Linked DNA regions of Homo sapiens: region 1 is linked to region 2. Evidence: promoter capture Hi-C in human tissues and cell types (Jung and others, 2019). All regions are on one chromosome and are shown on one strand. Each heading gives the region's core, a stretch centred on a gene start or on the middle of the fragment in contact. The rest is flanking DNA. Distances are from core to core; before and after follow the strand shown. Region 1 has its middle 130 kb from the start of LINC02490. Region 2 holds the start of ONECUT1 (one cut homeobox 1).

Region 1 (7,124 bases), core at 4,035-6,534, 460 kb before region 2:
AAACTTCATCTTGAAAATGAACTTAGATGAGATGGTGCCGGTGGATAAGGATAATTGATGATTGTTTCAGAGTGGAGGAAGGGGAAGAAGGAAAGATCTAAGAGAAAAAAAAAAAAAGCCTTCTTGGCATTCAGCTTAGTGTCCTTAACGGAATGTACTAAAGGCTATCCACAAACTCCATGAAGTTTTTGTGTGGTTTTGTCCAATAAACCTATAATTTTTAATATGCCATGATAATTAGAATAGAAACCATTTTCCAAATAAAAAAATCTGTACAATTCAGGTGTTTCTTTGATTGCCTTAGAATTTAGACATTTTTGATGATGTAGGCATATTGATTATTTTAAAATGTGTTGAAATATGTATTTGAATAGTTGTTTTAACTTTTCAAAATACTTCCTCCACCTATTTGACCCTTTGACAAATATATATTAAGCTCTTAATATTTACAAGGCAACCTCATCATCTCAACCAAGATAGGAAAACCATCAAATACCAGTTGACAATTTGATAGACGAGTACATTGAAACCCAGAGCAGCTAAGTGACTTGGCTAAACTCACAAAGCTCTTTAGAGGTTGAACTAGACATAGACCCCACACATCCTGCCTCTTAGACCCTTGCTCTTCCCCTAAGAGTCATTCCCATTCATCAAATGGCTATCCTTAACCAAGCACTAGACAAGACACTTTGCTTAGATTATCTCATTTAAATTCACAACGGCAAGGTGGTTCACATGAACCCTTTCTTATAGATGAGAAAATGAAACTCAGTGATTTTGGGATTTGTCTAAAGTCACTCAGCCAGGATTTGAATCCCACACTGCCTGGTGTGGTGGGTAAAGCAAGGGAATTGTGTCGAAGTATCAGGGCTACTTCAGCAGCTACTAAAGAAAATAAGTAACACTGAATTTGAACAATAACATATTAAGCCACAGTCCTGTGTAGAGGGTGCCTCTCCTGCCAGCAGAGAATAATATGGCTTCCACGGCATCCTGCTCCAACCCTTCAAGACCCAGAAGCCGTTAAAAAATTCTCACTAAAAGGCAGTGGTGCTGGACCTTTTATTTGTTCCTGTAGAAGTGCAGTGGGTCAGCAGGCCCAGCCTGTGGAAACCAATGGTCACACTGATCCGGACAGGATTAAACACCGGCCTCCATGGTTATGTTCCACTTGATTCTCCCTTTGTCTGTCCTCATTTGAGACATGACTGATGCTTGTTGATTGTCAGAGACATTGCTTTACACACTCATTTCCAGGCCTAGGGTTGTGTCATGCCAGGGCACCTTCAATTATCTTAAGGAATCATCTCAAAATTCTTTTTAAAAGGAAAGAATTATGAGTTCATTTACATTTTAAAACAGAAAAATACATTCCAGATAATTATTTTAAAAGGAGAACGTAGTCTAAAAATCAGGCCAAAACAAAGACACACAGAATTAGAAAATCATTGACGAAAATAAGTCACACATTATTTGGAAAGGGGGAGGTTGATATTATCCATAGTCCAAGAAGTTTGAATCAAACATCCTAATTTTTGGCTAAAGGGAAAGCAAATTGCATTCTGTTCCCTGCAGTTTAACCTGTCACTTATTAGGTTTGTGGTCACTTCTAGCATTCACATATTCAAGCTTTGGCTTTTTTTTTTTTTTCTTTTGAGATGGAGTCTAGCTGTTGTCACCCAGTCTGGAGTGCAATGGCACGATCTCAGCTCACTGCAACCTCTGCCTCCCAGGTTTCAGCAGTCCTCCTGCCTCAGCCTCCCTTGAGTAGCTGGGATTACAGGCACTCACCACCACGCCCAGCTAGTTTTTGTATTTTTAGTAGAGACAGGGTTTCACCATGTTCGCCAGGCTGGTCTCGAACTCCTGACCTCAGGTGATCCACCTACCTTGGCCTCCCAAAGTGTTGAGATTACAGGTGTGAGCCACTGCACCCAGCTGGCTCTTCTTAAATTAGATGTGTGTGTGTATATATATATATATATATATTTTTTTTTTTTAAATTTAAGACAGAGTCTCATTCTGTCACCCAGGCTGGAGTGCAGTGGTGCCATCTCAGCTCACTGCCACCTCCACCTCCCAGGCTCAAGTGATTCTCCTGCCTCAGCCTCCCGAGTAGCTGAGATTACAGCCGCGTGCCACCATGACAAACGCTAATTTTTATATTTTTTTAAGTAGATATGGGGTTTCACCATATTCACAAGGCTGGTCTTGAACTCCTGACCTCAAGTGATCTGCCCACCTTGGTCTCCTACACTGCTGGGATTACAGACATGAGCCACCATGCCTGGCCAGGAGTGAAAATTCTAATAGCTATGGTATGGTAGATCCAGAAAGTTCCCCATCTGACATATCCCTAATCTTGTGTTCAACATTTTTAACATCTTTTTTCTCATTTGATCCATATAAAACCCTGAAAGATAGGGTAGACACTTATTACTGCTATTTTACAGGTAAGCAAACTGAGGACCAAAGAGCTTCCATGGCCTATCCAATGCCGATTAGCTTGTGGGTAACAAAAGTAGGCCTAGAACACAGATTTCCTAGACTGGAACTAGACTGCTAGTTCCCGGATATGCCACTACATCTCACTGAGCCTGTGGTTGTGTTTTCTTTTGAACATACCAGATTGACTTCGCATGCATATAAGTTAAACACAGGACACTAGTAATAGTATGGAAAACATAAACTTCTGTAATTATTATGGCAGTCTCCTGGTATACGCCATTAAAGTATCTACCCAAATTAGTTTATTAGGACAATATTGTAAAGCATAGTTTTCTAAAAAATGTTATCTTTTAAAATATATTTTATATATATATATATCTTTGGCCCTAAATCTATGATCTAGGGTCTGAGTCCCAGGAAGAGATAGCTAGAAGAAAGAAGGGAGCAAAAATAATCCAAAAGAGATATTTGCTTACACCCTCAATTATTGGAAGCATAGGTCATTTTCTAGCTTGTCTTGCAGCATACAGTATCAGCAGAAGATTACTAGACGCTGTCTAGTAATTATTAGATGCCTCTCCAAGCTCTCTGGCCTCCTGAGAAGGCCCAACAGCATGGACATCTAGTGGGATTATCCTTGTTTGGACTGAAGAAGATTTTGTCTCCATCAAGTGATGGTGGTATGGATGCACCAGGACAGTATGGATTTGTGGCGCCCTCACAATGGGCAGGTGTTATCCAAAGGCCTGGGAAAAAGACGTTACCACTCCAGTGTAAGAATGGAAAATGTAGGCTGGGCACGGTGGCTCACACCTGTAATCCCAGCACTTTGGGAGGCTGAGGCAGGTGGATCACGAGGTCGGGAGATCAAGACCATCCTGGCTAATACGGTGAAACCCCGTCTCAACTAAAAATACAAGAAAAAAATTAGCCGGGCGTGGTGGCGGGTGCCTGTAGTCCCAGCTACTCCGGAGGCTGAGGCAGGAGAATGGTGTGAACCTGGGAGGTGGAGCTTGCAGTGAGCCAAGATCGCGCCACTGCACTCCAGCCTGTGCGACAGAGCGAGACTCCGTCCCAAGAAAAAAAAAAAAAAAAGGAAAATGTAGATTCTAATAGGAACCAAGAAGATGATGTTTGTGATTGCAAGTAAAATACTTCCTGAGGATGCCTAGAAATAATTAGAGGAAGAGGAGAAGGGGCACTTTGAATGGATCCTGGGTCAAGGTTTAGCCAGAGTAATAATGTATATATTGTATTGTGTATTATAGCTCTAGGCTGATGTGGGCTAAAGATACGGGTGAGTCACATTAATAGTTTTAGATTTTTATTGAAAACATCTGTTCCACTTTGTTTTAAGGAAAGGTACATTGATTTGGGGGTCTGACAGAGTTGGCTTTCAATGCTACCCTCACCCTGTTTACTAGTTCTGGATACTTGGGCAAGGAATAAAACCTGCCTAGATCTATTTTAAGTAAAATTGAGATGATGCTGAAGTCATGAGGTTGTTGGGAACCGTCCGATATTAAAGGGAACTGACTCTTTACAAAAGAAGTAAGTCTCATCTGAGAAGGCAAAGGCGGAGTATTTCACAGTTCTGAAAGCCCATGTCTGTCTCAGGGGTTAGCACAGCCCACGCGGGCAGACCGGGCATTCTGCCTGGTGCCCCTGTATTGTCACTCACCCAGCTGTTTCCTGGGGCCAGGTTCCTTCAGTAGGCACTGTGATCCAGGCCACTGGGACAGCTTAAGTCACATCCTCTTCCCCTGTCCCCATCTGGTTTGATGATCTACATCCCTGCATGTGCCTTTCCAGAAATGTGTTCAGAAGTAAGCCCTATATCCTTCCTTCAGAGGGAGAAGGCCAGGGGTCGGGTCTCTGTGAGGGGTGCTCTGAACACTGCTGGGGAAGATACAGGTGTCCTCCCTTTTCCTCACTCCCCCAACAGGCAAAGGACAGGAATCAAGCCTGTATCAAAGGCAGCAGTGGCAGAGGAGAAGGTCTGCTTCTGAGGAGGAATGAGCAAAGCTGTGGAGAATGCTTAAGTAGAATTGGCAGCAGGAATCTTTGATGCCCTCAGCAACAAACACTTGAGTGGCAGGACTGTAGTGTTGATTTTTCTTTTAATCTTCTCTCACCTTCATGATAACATAGTTCTCTGCTGGAAAAGTCATTCTTTACCCTTTTATGGCACTGAGGCCAAGAATCACAGAACTCTTGCTTCATTTCTAATTTTGAAATAAGTCCTCATTCCCTATAGTTACCAAAAAAAACAAAAACAAAAAAGTCAGTGTGTCCGTATATGACATCACTTTTTGTGGTCATGATGTTTCCCTCCATGCTTTGTTAAGAGCTGCTTAAAAGAGCTAGAGCCAACCCAACAAGCTGATTGATAGAGGCTGCATCAGAGGTGACTGAAAAGAAAGGACAGAGGGGAAGGGAGAAAAAAGGAATTTAGATCATGAAAGAAGCCCTTGAGTTTATCAGTTACTGGGGGTTGGATGACTCGCTGTTTGAAAAGCCAGAGAAACTTAGACAAGTGTTTCTCAGTCTGGCACAGGGGAAAGTGCTGGAAAACCAAGAATTGGTTGGTTTATAGAGGGAAGCTTTGGGATCTCTTTTTCTGAAAACCATCAAGAAAATCAGATGCTTTGGTTTGATTGGCAGCAACACTCTACTTAGAAGCCAGGAGGAAAACAGGCTGCTCTCAGAGCTCCATCAAGTGCAGCATGAGTCTGTAGGTCAGGACTTGTGTCTACGTTACCTGAACCATGGAGCCCAAAAGCAGAATAGGGTTCCTTCCTTTCCTTCCAGGAAAGTGGAACATCTCAGGTGCCCCATTGTTTTTATGTGAATGCATTGGTTTTATATTTTTCTCCTAGGCAAGAGATGCACCTGTCAGAGGAGCCCTGCAGGGAGAGTGAAAAAGGATAAAACCTGATGGAGAGGCATTGTGCTACAGACCAAGGACTCTCCACTCTGGCTGAGCATCAGAACCGCCTGCAGAGCTTAGTCAAATATTGAGCCTTCAGCCCACCCACAATGATGAGATTCAGTAAGTCTGTAGGGAGCCAGATCAGCTCTTGTTGTTGTTATTTTGAAGCTCTACAAGTGTTTGTGGTTGCACAACCAGAGTTCAGACCCACTGTAGATGTTTCCAGTGCATTATTTCACATAATCCACACAACAACCTGGTGAGGCAGATGGCTTATTCCCAGTTGTAACAATGAGAAAACGAACCCAGAAGGCTGCAACTTATTACTAAATGTTAATATATAGCAAGTGGTATAACTGAGATTGTTACCCAAATCTCCTTAGTCCACTGATGCCAAAGGGTGGTGTGTGTGTGTGTGTGTGTGTGTGTGTGTGTGTGTGAGAGAGAGGTCTGTGTTTGGTGTGCGTTAGTATTGAAGGGGGATGACACTGTTAAGTTTCCTCTTTTGATATATAACTCAGAGGGTAATGTTTTCCTCCCTTCCTAAAATAAATGACACAGAGAGAAACAAGGTACATGTATTAGTCCATTTTCACACTGCTGATAAAGACATACCCTAGACTAGGCAATTTACAAAGGAAAGAGTCTTAATGGACTGACAGTTCCATGTGGCTGGGGAGGCCTCACAATCATGGCGGAATGTGAAAGGCACATTTCACATGGTGGCAGACAAGAGAAGAGTGAGAGCCAAGGGAAAGGGGTTTCCCCTTATAAAACCATCAGATCTTGTGAGACTTATTCACCACCATGAGAACAGTATGGGGAAATCCACCCCCCATGATTCAATCATCTCCCACTGGGTCCCTCCCACAACACGAGGGAATTATGGAAGCTACAATTCAAGATGAGATTTGTGTCAGGACACAGCCAAACCGTATCAGTACATTTCTCCCTTTCAAACCAACTCCCTCTTGAATGAGGATGGGAACAGTGTTCATTTTATTTATCATAAGACAAGCATATGTTTATGCTTTTAAATATTTTGGAATAGCACATTTTCTTCTTTTTTATTGACACTTAGGTGGAAGCCATTGAAGGAACCTAAGAAGAAAAGGAAAACTAAAAATTGACGTAAATCAGAAGTTCACAACTCGGATTATGAAAGGAGTTAATAACATAAGTAAAGATCAATAAATTCTTTTATTATAGTTCTCAACTATATTAATTCTAGCTTACTTAATCACCAAAGTGAATAACTCTTTTAAACAAATACAGAAATTTATTTTTAATATCTCACTAAGAGCCAATTTTAAAAACAACAAAATACCACTACACACTTATCAGAACGGCCAAAACCCAGAACACTGACAACACCAAATGCTGGCAAGGATGTAGAGCTACAAGAACTCTCCTTCGTTGCTGATGGGAATGCAAAATGGCACAGCCACCTTGGAGGACAGTTTGGTGGTTTCTTACAAAACTAAACATACTCTTAACCATATGATCTAACAATCACAATTTTTAGTATTTACCCAAAGGAGTTGAAAACTTATGTTCGTTCAACATGTACACAGATGTTTATAGCACCTTTATTTATCATTGCCAAAAACTAGAAGCAACTAAGAAGTCCTTCAGTAGGTGAATGGGGAAATACTGTGGTACGTACAGACAATGGAATATTATTCAGTGCTAAAAACATCAAAGAGCTGTCAAGCCATGAAAAGACATGGTGGAAAATTAAATG
Region 2 (6,809 bases), core at 2,001-4,500:
TTTCTTTGCTGAACCTGGTAGGGCAGCGTGGTAAGCTCTAGCCTACCTAGCAAAAGAAGGATTGCCCCTGTCCATCTCATATCCCAGGTTCTTCTCCTGACATTTACAAAATAAACATCCTAAGTTCCTTGTTTTCACTCTGAAAATATTGTCAGCAACAAGCATCCAGTCATAGTCTTATTTCCTTTTTTCTTACATATATACATTATGTAATTTTCTGCTAGTGATTGACACTATTTTTTTCTTTAAATTTCCTGCAGCTACTCAAAATCTAAGCAGCTAAAAATAAGTCCTCCTCCTCAATCACACACATTGACCTACACCTACCAAGTTTCCAGGGACTCCTCTGTGGACTCTTAATTCCTTCAATCCCCATAGTGTACCTAATGGGTGCCAGGCTCTGTTCTGGGCACTGGAAGGGGGAAAGAAGGAGAGGGACAAAACGACAGAAAGTAGTCCCAGCCTTCCAGCAGTTAACAATCTCTCTAGTGCCCGTCCTCCCTCCACACATGCAAATTCACCTTAACTAGGCCTAAGAAGAGCATTCTTCCTACCCGTCACTTCCTTAGTAAGAAGAAAAATTTTGAGAGGTCAAATAAGAACACAGTAATATGTTGTTTCTGACTGAGAAACCACTGCAACTCAGTCAATTACGGGAGAACAATGGTTAGATAAATGGTGTGAATAGCCAAGAAAGATTAGGGAGATTTGCAAACCAAAGCAAATCCTGCACATACAATATTTTAATGTTTTAGAAAAAAATCAAAAATTACTGAGCAAGCCAACACATATGGTGCTTCTCCAGGTCTTTTCGTTGGCTCCTTCTTTAGGGACCAACACAGAGCCAGCCCCCCTTTTCATAAATGCCCTTGGGGGAGAGGGGAAGTTGAGCTCACCTGATGCCAGCCTTATTCAGGTGGACTCCAGAGGCTCAGCTGAGTGCCTCTCATGAAGGAGGGTTTCCAAGATCAAGTTCCTAATTAGCTACACAAAGAGAAAACCATGAACAATTTGTGCACTTGGTGGTATTTACTTCTTTCTTTCTTTTAACAAACTGCCTTTTGGGAAGATAGTTGTCATAAGGGCAAATCAATCACTTCAGCGGGATTAAAATATTGGGGCGGGGGCGGGGGGACAACTGTTTAGCTGAAAGACTCCCTGCTACTTTAACCCATTGTTTGGTCTCATGCTGTAGGAAATGAGAATGGAAACAATTAAAAACCAAAGATGCAGCTTTCCACCAAGGTACTGTAATATACTAGGCAGGAAATATATGTTTTGTGCTTGTGTGTATGCGTGTATGAATAGGTAGATATAGATACAAGTTTAAAGAGTTAATCGTGTTTTCTGAGTTCCTTTACATCAGTGTATTTTCCCTAAAATATCTTTTCTTCTCTGGGGGTTCCTAAATTCCTAACTGTTCATTATGAAAGTAGACATGAAATCCATTGAGATGAATTATTTGCAGGGCCTCCATATGCATTGTTTGGACAGGATGGGAGTGCCTCTGGTGATAAAACCAGCTAGATTAACCAGTCCCAGGACATGGCCGCCTTCAAGGAAGTCACGTTGACTGTATCCACTGAACTTGACCTACCTGGATTAGGATGTTGCCCTGGTGGTAGCAGGGACCTGGGCAAAGAGATAGGCCTACTCATGCCTGGGCCGGTGGGAACTTTTCCCAAAGGGTTGGCCAGCCCAAACTTTTGCCTTGGAAACCCAACTACCACCACTACCACAGCCTTGGCCTCTCTAAGGGCTTGGGAGCATTTGCAGTGGAAACACCACGGGTGGGCTGCAGTTCGGTGCCCCAGCAAGCAAACCTACAGTCTGAGTCTGGCCCAGCACAGGCTACACACACTTTATTCCATATCTGAGTCCAGATACCCCGGCTCTGAGAGGCTATTCTCATTGTAACCACCGCTTGCCTGGGGCTGAGGCTCGGCGCTGACCCGGCCATAACTGCCACGGGCTGGACAATGGGCACATCTGTCCTTTCTCTGAGGGATGAAAGCACCTAAGCGGACACGGCTCTGCCTTTTGTTGCGGATTTTTTTTCTTTCTTTTGTAAATGAAAGAAAGCCGCGGCATGTGGCGGCCGGGTGTACGTCTCAAACTGGGGGCCTCCGCACACGTCCCCACCAGGCCCAAAGACCAGGTTCGATTCCAGATTGGAGCGTGACTGTGGGAAGGGCGAAATTACTCCCGAAGCTGAATTGATTTTCAAATCTGGAGGCGTCTCTCGGGGACGCCGGGAAAAGGGCGTCCCTAGGGGCCAAGCGGAGACCCGCGCGCCGGCGTCCACCCTGTCTGCGTCAGTACTTCTGGAAAGCAACCGCCTCCGGGTGCTTTAGCAGGAGGGCCTTGGGAGTAACCGCAGGGACGGCCCGAGCCTCCACGGCCCCACCAGCACCCGGAAGTTAACATGGGTACCCTCCAGGGCACTCCCTCCGCTCTCCCTCGCCCCCCTCCACAGGCCGAGTCATCGGCGAAGCGGACGCACAGCCTTAATTATGAGCTGAGCGGGAGAAGGAGCCAGGCGGCGGGGGACAGTGAGGTATGGCCCGAACTGGGATTCTTGGCACTGATTACTCCTCTCCCCAGGGCATGGATGAGAAAGGGTGGGCAAGTATGTATCTGGGAGGACGAAGGGTGCCGGGTCAACGGCCGCCAAACGGACCCAGCCCTTTAAGCAATCTGCACCCCACCCCACCCCAACCCCCATCCCCCAATAGGCCGTGAATTCAAGGGTGGGAAAGCGCACTCCCAGCAGCCCCCCGGGAAATAAAGCTTAGTGGGCTAGAGCCGAAGGGGTGATGACACAGTCCCCAGCTCCCCGGGCAAGCTGCACCGGGAAGCAGCAACTGGAGAGAGAGGGGCGATGTCTCCAAGCACAGCACTCCAGCCGCTAGAAGCCCGACACGAGCGTCCCCGGGCTGGGAGGACAGAGCCCACTCAAGCAAGGGAGGCGAGCGAGCCAGGCGCGAGTCTCCTGGGATTGCAGCGGCGGCCCCAGGTCGCGCTCTGCGCCAATCTTTCGCACGTGCCCGCAGCTCCCTGGCCATCCAGCGCCGCAGGGAAGGCGCTGGGCCCCCTCCTTCATTTGTACCGGGACGCCAAGGGCCTGGCGCGCCGCGACCTAGGGGGCGGGGGCGGGCCTCGCGCATGCGCGCTGCGCCTGGCGGGCGTGAGGGCGGGCCGCTGCGGCGGCGGCGGCGGCGGCTACCGAACCGCGGCCACAGAGTCTGTAACAGTAACAGAGCCATGGCTCAAGCTGGCCAGCGGGGCGGGCAGGCAGCAGACGCGGCAGGCGCGCGGGCCGCGGCAGGGGAGCCGGAGACCTCAGAATTTTAAGAAAGAGAGGGGCGAGAGGTGGCCGAGGCGGGCGGGCTGGGGCACTGCGCTCTCCCAACGGCGCGGATCCTCTTTGGAAATTAATATTAAAAAAAAAAAAGCCGAGGACGCAGAGGGGAAGGTGGGGGGTAAGAGGGAAGGCGAGACACACACACACACACACACGCACACGCACACACGGACACACACACACGGAGAGAGAGAGAGAGAGAGACAGAGCCCCACAGTGAGAGGAAGGAAGGCAACAGTCGCCAGCAGCCGATGTGAAGACCGGACTCCGTGCGCCCCTCGCCGCCTCTGCCTGGCCACATCGATGTTGTGTCCGCCGCCTGCTCGCCCGGATCACGATGAACGCGCAGCTGACCATGGAAGCGATCGGCGAGCTGCACGGGGTGAGCCATGAGCCGGTGCCCGCCCCTGCCGACCTGCTGGGCGGCAGCCCCCACGCGCGCAGCTCCGTGGCGCACCGCGGCAGCCACCTGCCCCCCGCGCACCCGCGCTCCATGGGCATGGCGTCCCTGCTGGACGGCGGCAGCGGCGGCGGAGATTACCACCACCACCACCGGGCCCCTGAGCACAGCCTGGCCGGCCCCCTGCATCCCACCATGACCATGGCCTGCGAGACTCCCCCAGGTATGAGCATGCCCACCACCTACACCACCTTGACCCCTCTGCAGCCGCTGCCTCCCATCTCCACAGTCTCGGACAAGTTCCCCCACCATCACCACCACCACCATCACCACCACCACCCGCACCACCACCAGCGCCTGGCGGGCAACGTGAGCGGTAGCTTCACGCTCATGCGGGATGAGCGCGGGCTGGCCTCCATGAATAACCTCTATACCCCCTACCACAAGGACGTGGCCGGCATGGGCCAGAGCCTCTCGCCCCTCTCCAGCTCCGGTCTGGGCAGCATCCACAACTCCCAGCAAGGGCTCCCCCACTATGCCCACCCGGGGGCCGCCATGCCCACCGACAAGATGCTCACCCCCAACGGCTTCGAAGCCCACCACCCGGCCATGCTCGGCCGCCACGGGGAGCAGCACCTCACGCCCACCTCGGCCGGCATGGTGCCCATCAACGGCCTTCCTCCGCACCATCCCCACGCCCACCTGAACGCCCAGGGCCACGGGCAACTCCTGGGCACAGCCCGGGAGCCCAACCCTTCGGTGACCGGCGCGCAGGTCAGCAATGGAAGTAATTCAGGGCAGATGGAAGAGATCAATACCAAAGAGGTGGCGCAGCGTATCACCACCGAGCTCAAGCGCTACAGCATCCCACAGGCCATCTTCGCGCAGAGGGTGCTCTGCCGCTCCCAGGGGACCCTCTCGGACCTGCTGCGCAACCCCAAACCCTGGAGCAAACTCAAATCCGGCCGGGAGACCTTCCGGAGGATGTGGAAGTGGCTGCAGGAGCCGGAGTTCCAGCGCATGTCCGCGCTCCGCTTAGCAGGTGAGCCGGCCAAGGAGCTGGGCGCGCGGGAGATAAGGTACACGAAAGCCGAAGGGACCAAAGGAGGAAGGGTAGGAGAGAGGGCTGGGTGCGCTTCATCCCGCCCGCCCCTACCCCTAGAAGGGGGACTCCCTGTGCCTGGAAGGGCCAGCACAGGGCTGTGGGAGCAAATTGCCTACTCCAGGGCTCAGGGTGTTGGGCTGTGGAAGGCTCCGAGAGCTAAGCGGCCGGGCCTCGGCGACTGAAGAGGCTCATTTGCGCTCAGGGACAGCGAGGGAAGCTCGTACGGCCTGAGGCGGAGAGAAATCCCCGCACCTGGTGAGACACTCTGCGCCACCTCTCAGTTCAGCGATCCGGGTTTGGGAAGAGGGATGCAACGCGTGCGTGGAATCGCACGCAAATGTTCCTCGCAGGTACCTCTGACACATCCCAGGCGCTGGGCTGGAGCGTGCCGGAGCAGCGTCGATGTTTGGCCGAACTGGCTGCTGTGACCCCCTCCCGCGCTCATTCTTTTGGCGCTGGCTGGGGTGACCTCAATCTAAGAGTATGGGCAAAAAGTTTCAGAGCCATTGGGCGGTGGGTGTGTAGCACAGACGAGTTGTAAGGGTTAGGACGCTCTCTGCGCATGGAATTGGCTGTGGAAAGGAGAGGGAGGCTGACCGTCCCAAGGTCCCAGTGAGAGCTGCAAAGCAATAGCCATGTCCTGGGACCGACTCCGCTGCCGACTCCCTGAGGACTTTGCATTTTGTTTTATTATTCCTCTTCGCGATTTTCGTCTGAATCCCCGTGCGGGAGGGGGGTTTGGGGATGAGAGTGTGTAAATGACCCCCAAGTCTAGGAGCAGAGGTCTCCTGCCCGAAACCCCAAGCCCCAGGTGTTTCTGAGTTCAGCTGGAAGCTCTCCTTGGCGCAGCGCAGACACCGCGCCTGGCTCCCCGAGACCGCGGATAGGCAGAGAAGAAAGCTGAGCCCAGCCCGAACCCCACCGGGGATTTCAGGAGGATTCGGCGACCCTTGAGGGTAGAGAACATGAGGGGAGGTAGAGCTAAGGACAGCGGAGGGTGGCCTGGGTTTGATGAGATCCGGCCGGCGGTTGCCAAGTTGATTGACTCCTGGTCCATGCCCCCTCCCCCCCCACTCCCCCACCCCCCACCTCCACCTCCATCTCAGCCCAGCGCCCAGGCCTGAGCCTTGGCGAAGAGAAAAGGTAAAAGCCGGAATGAGGGTTTGTTAATTAACTGATCGTTCTCCATTAATTCGTCCCTGGAGAACGAGAGACAGTCAATCCGCTCTGAGCCGGGGGCACTGAGCCGTTTCACAGTCTAAAATCAAAGCGTGAGGCCAAAGCCCCCTCCTCCAACTCGTGCCTGCCAATGAGAAGCTGGGGGTGGCAGGTGCCGACCAGCCTGCGATTCGTGCCCCGAAGCGACCCAAAGCGTTCTTTGGGTTTGGGCGCTGCAGGCCACCGGTCCCAAAGCACCGCGCTGGCTGAGACTCTGCCCTGCCAGGTTTTCCAGCCCAGCTCTGCCTTCGTTCGCCCCAGGCAAAGTCCTCATGCAGGTTCCTGCAGCCTGCGCCCGGGAACCAGTCAGGGGAGAAGAGGCTCGCTGGGCGCCCCAGCGAATCGCTGGCCCCCGGTTTTCCACTCTCTAGCTCTTGTGCTACCGGCACCATATCTCCACCCGTGGGCTGCCCGCGAGCAACTGAGGTTCCGGAGGGAGTGGGCGAAGGGGCTGCTCCTCGTCCTGACTGCTCCGTCTCTCCAGAGCCCAAGGTAGTGCCTTTTCACACACCCACACCACCCCAGAGCCAGGCTTCAGGGCCTCTTACCCAGGCAGTGCCCGCTGAAGCCAAAGAGTGGAGCGGGGGAATGTGGGAAGAAGATAGAAATGGAGAAGGCTACCCCTCCGGGAAAACTCGGTCCCCATCCCCCACCCCCGCCCCCTGGAGGCTCTTGCTCTGGACTTCAATATCCCTCCTCCCCCCACTGCCTGCTGTCGCCCC

What was found. The method cuts DNA at HindIII sites, captures the fragments that hold promoters and counts their contacts. A contact is called where the count stands out against the background at its distance.
Region 1: a contact is called between a fragment that was not itself captured here and the fragment with the promoter of ONECUT1 in region 2, in 2 of the 25 tissues and cell types used here (lymphoblastoid cells and mesendoderm cells).

The regions. Positions count from the first base shown.
Region 1 is chr15:53,244,928-53,252,051 of GRCh38, reverse strand. No RefSeq gene overlaps it. Among named protein-coding and RNA genes, the nearest start is that of LINC02490, 130 kb to the right of the region's middle. The HindIII fragment of the contact is 3,887 bases long and covers 3,341-7,124 here.
Region 2 is chr15:52,786,777-52,793,585 of GRCh38, reverse strand. It overlaps ONECUT1 (one cut homeobox 1), which reads left to right and starts at 3,250. Exons shown (of 2, transcript NM_004498.4): 1 at 3,250-4,806. The coding sequence starts at 3,702. LOC105370824 (a long non-coding RNA gene) reads right to left here and starts at 3,156. Exons shown (of 2, transcript XR_001751550.2): 1 at 897-3,156. RefSeq lists enhancers at 1,427-2,194, 2,195-2,963, 2,960-3,254 and a silencer at 3,143-3,212. The HindIII fragment of the contact is 12,558 bases long and covers 1-6,809 here.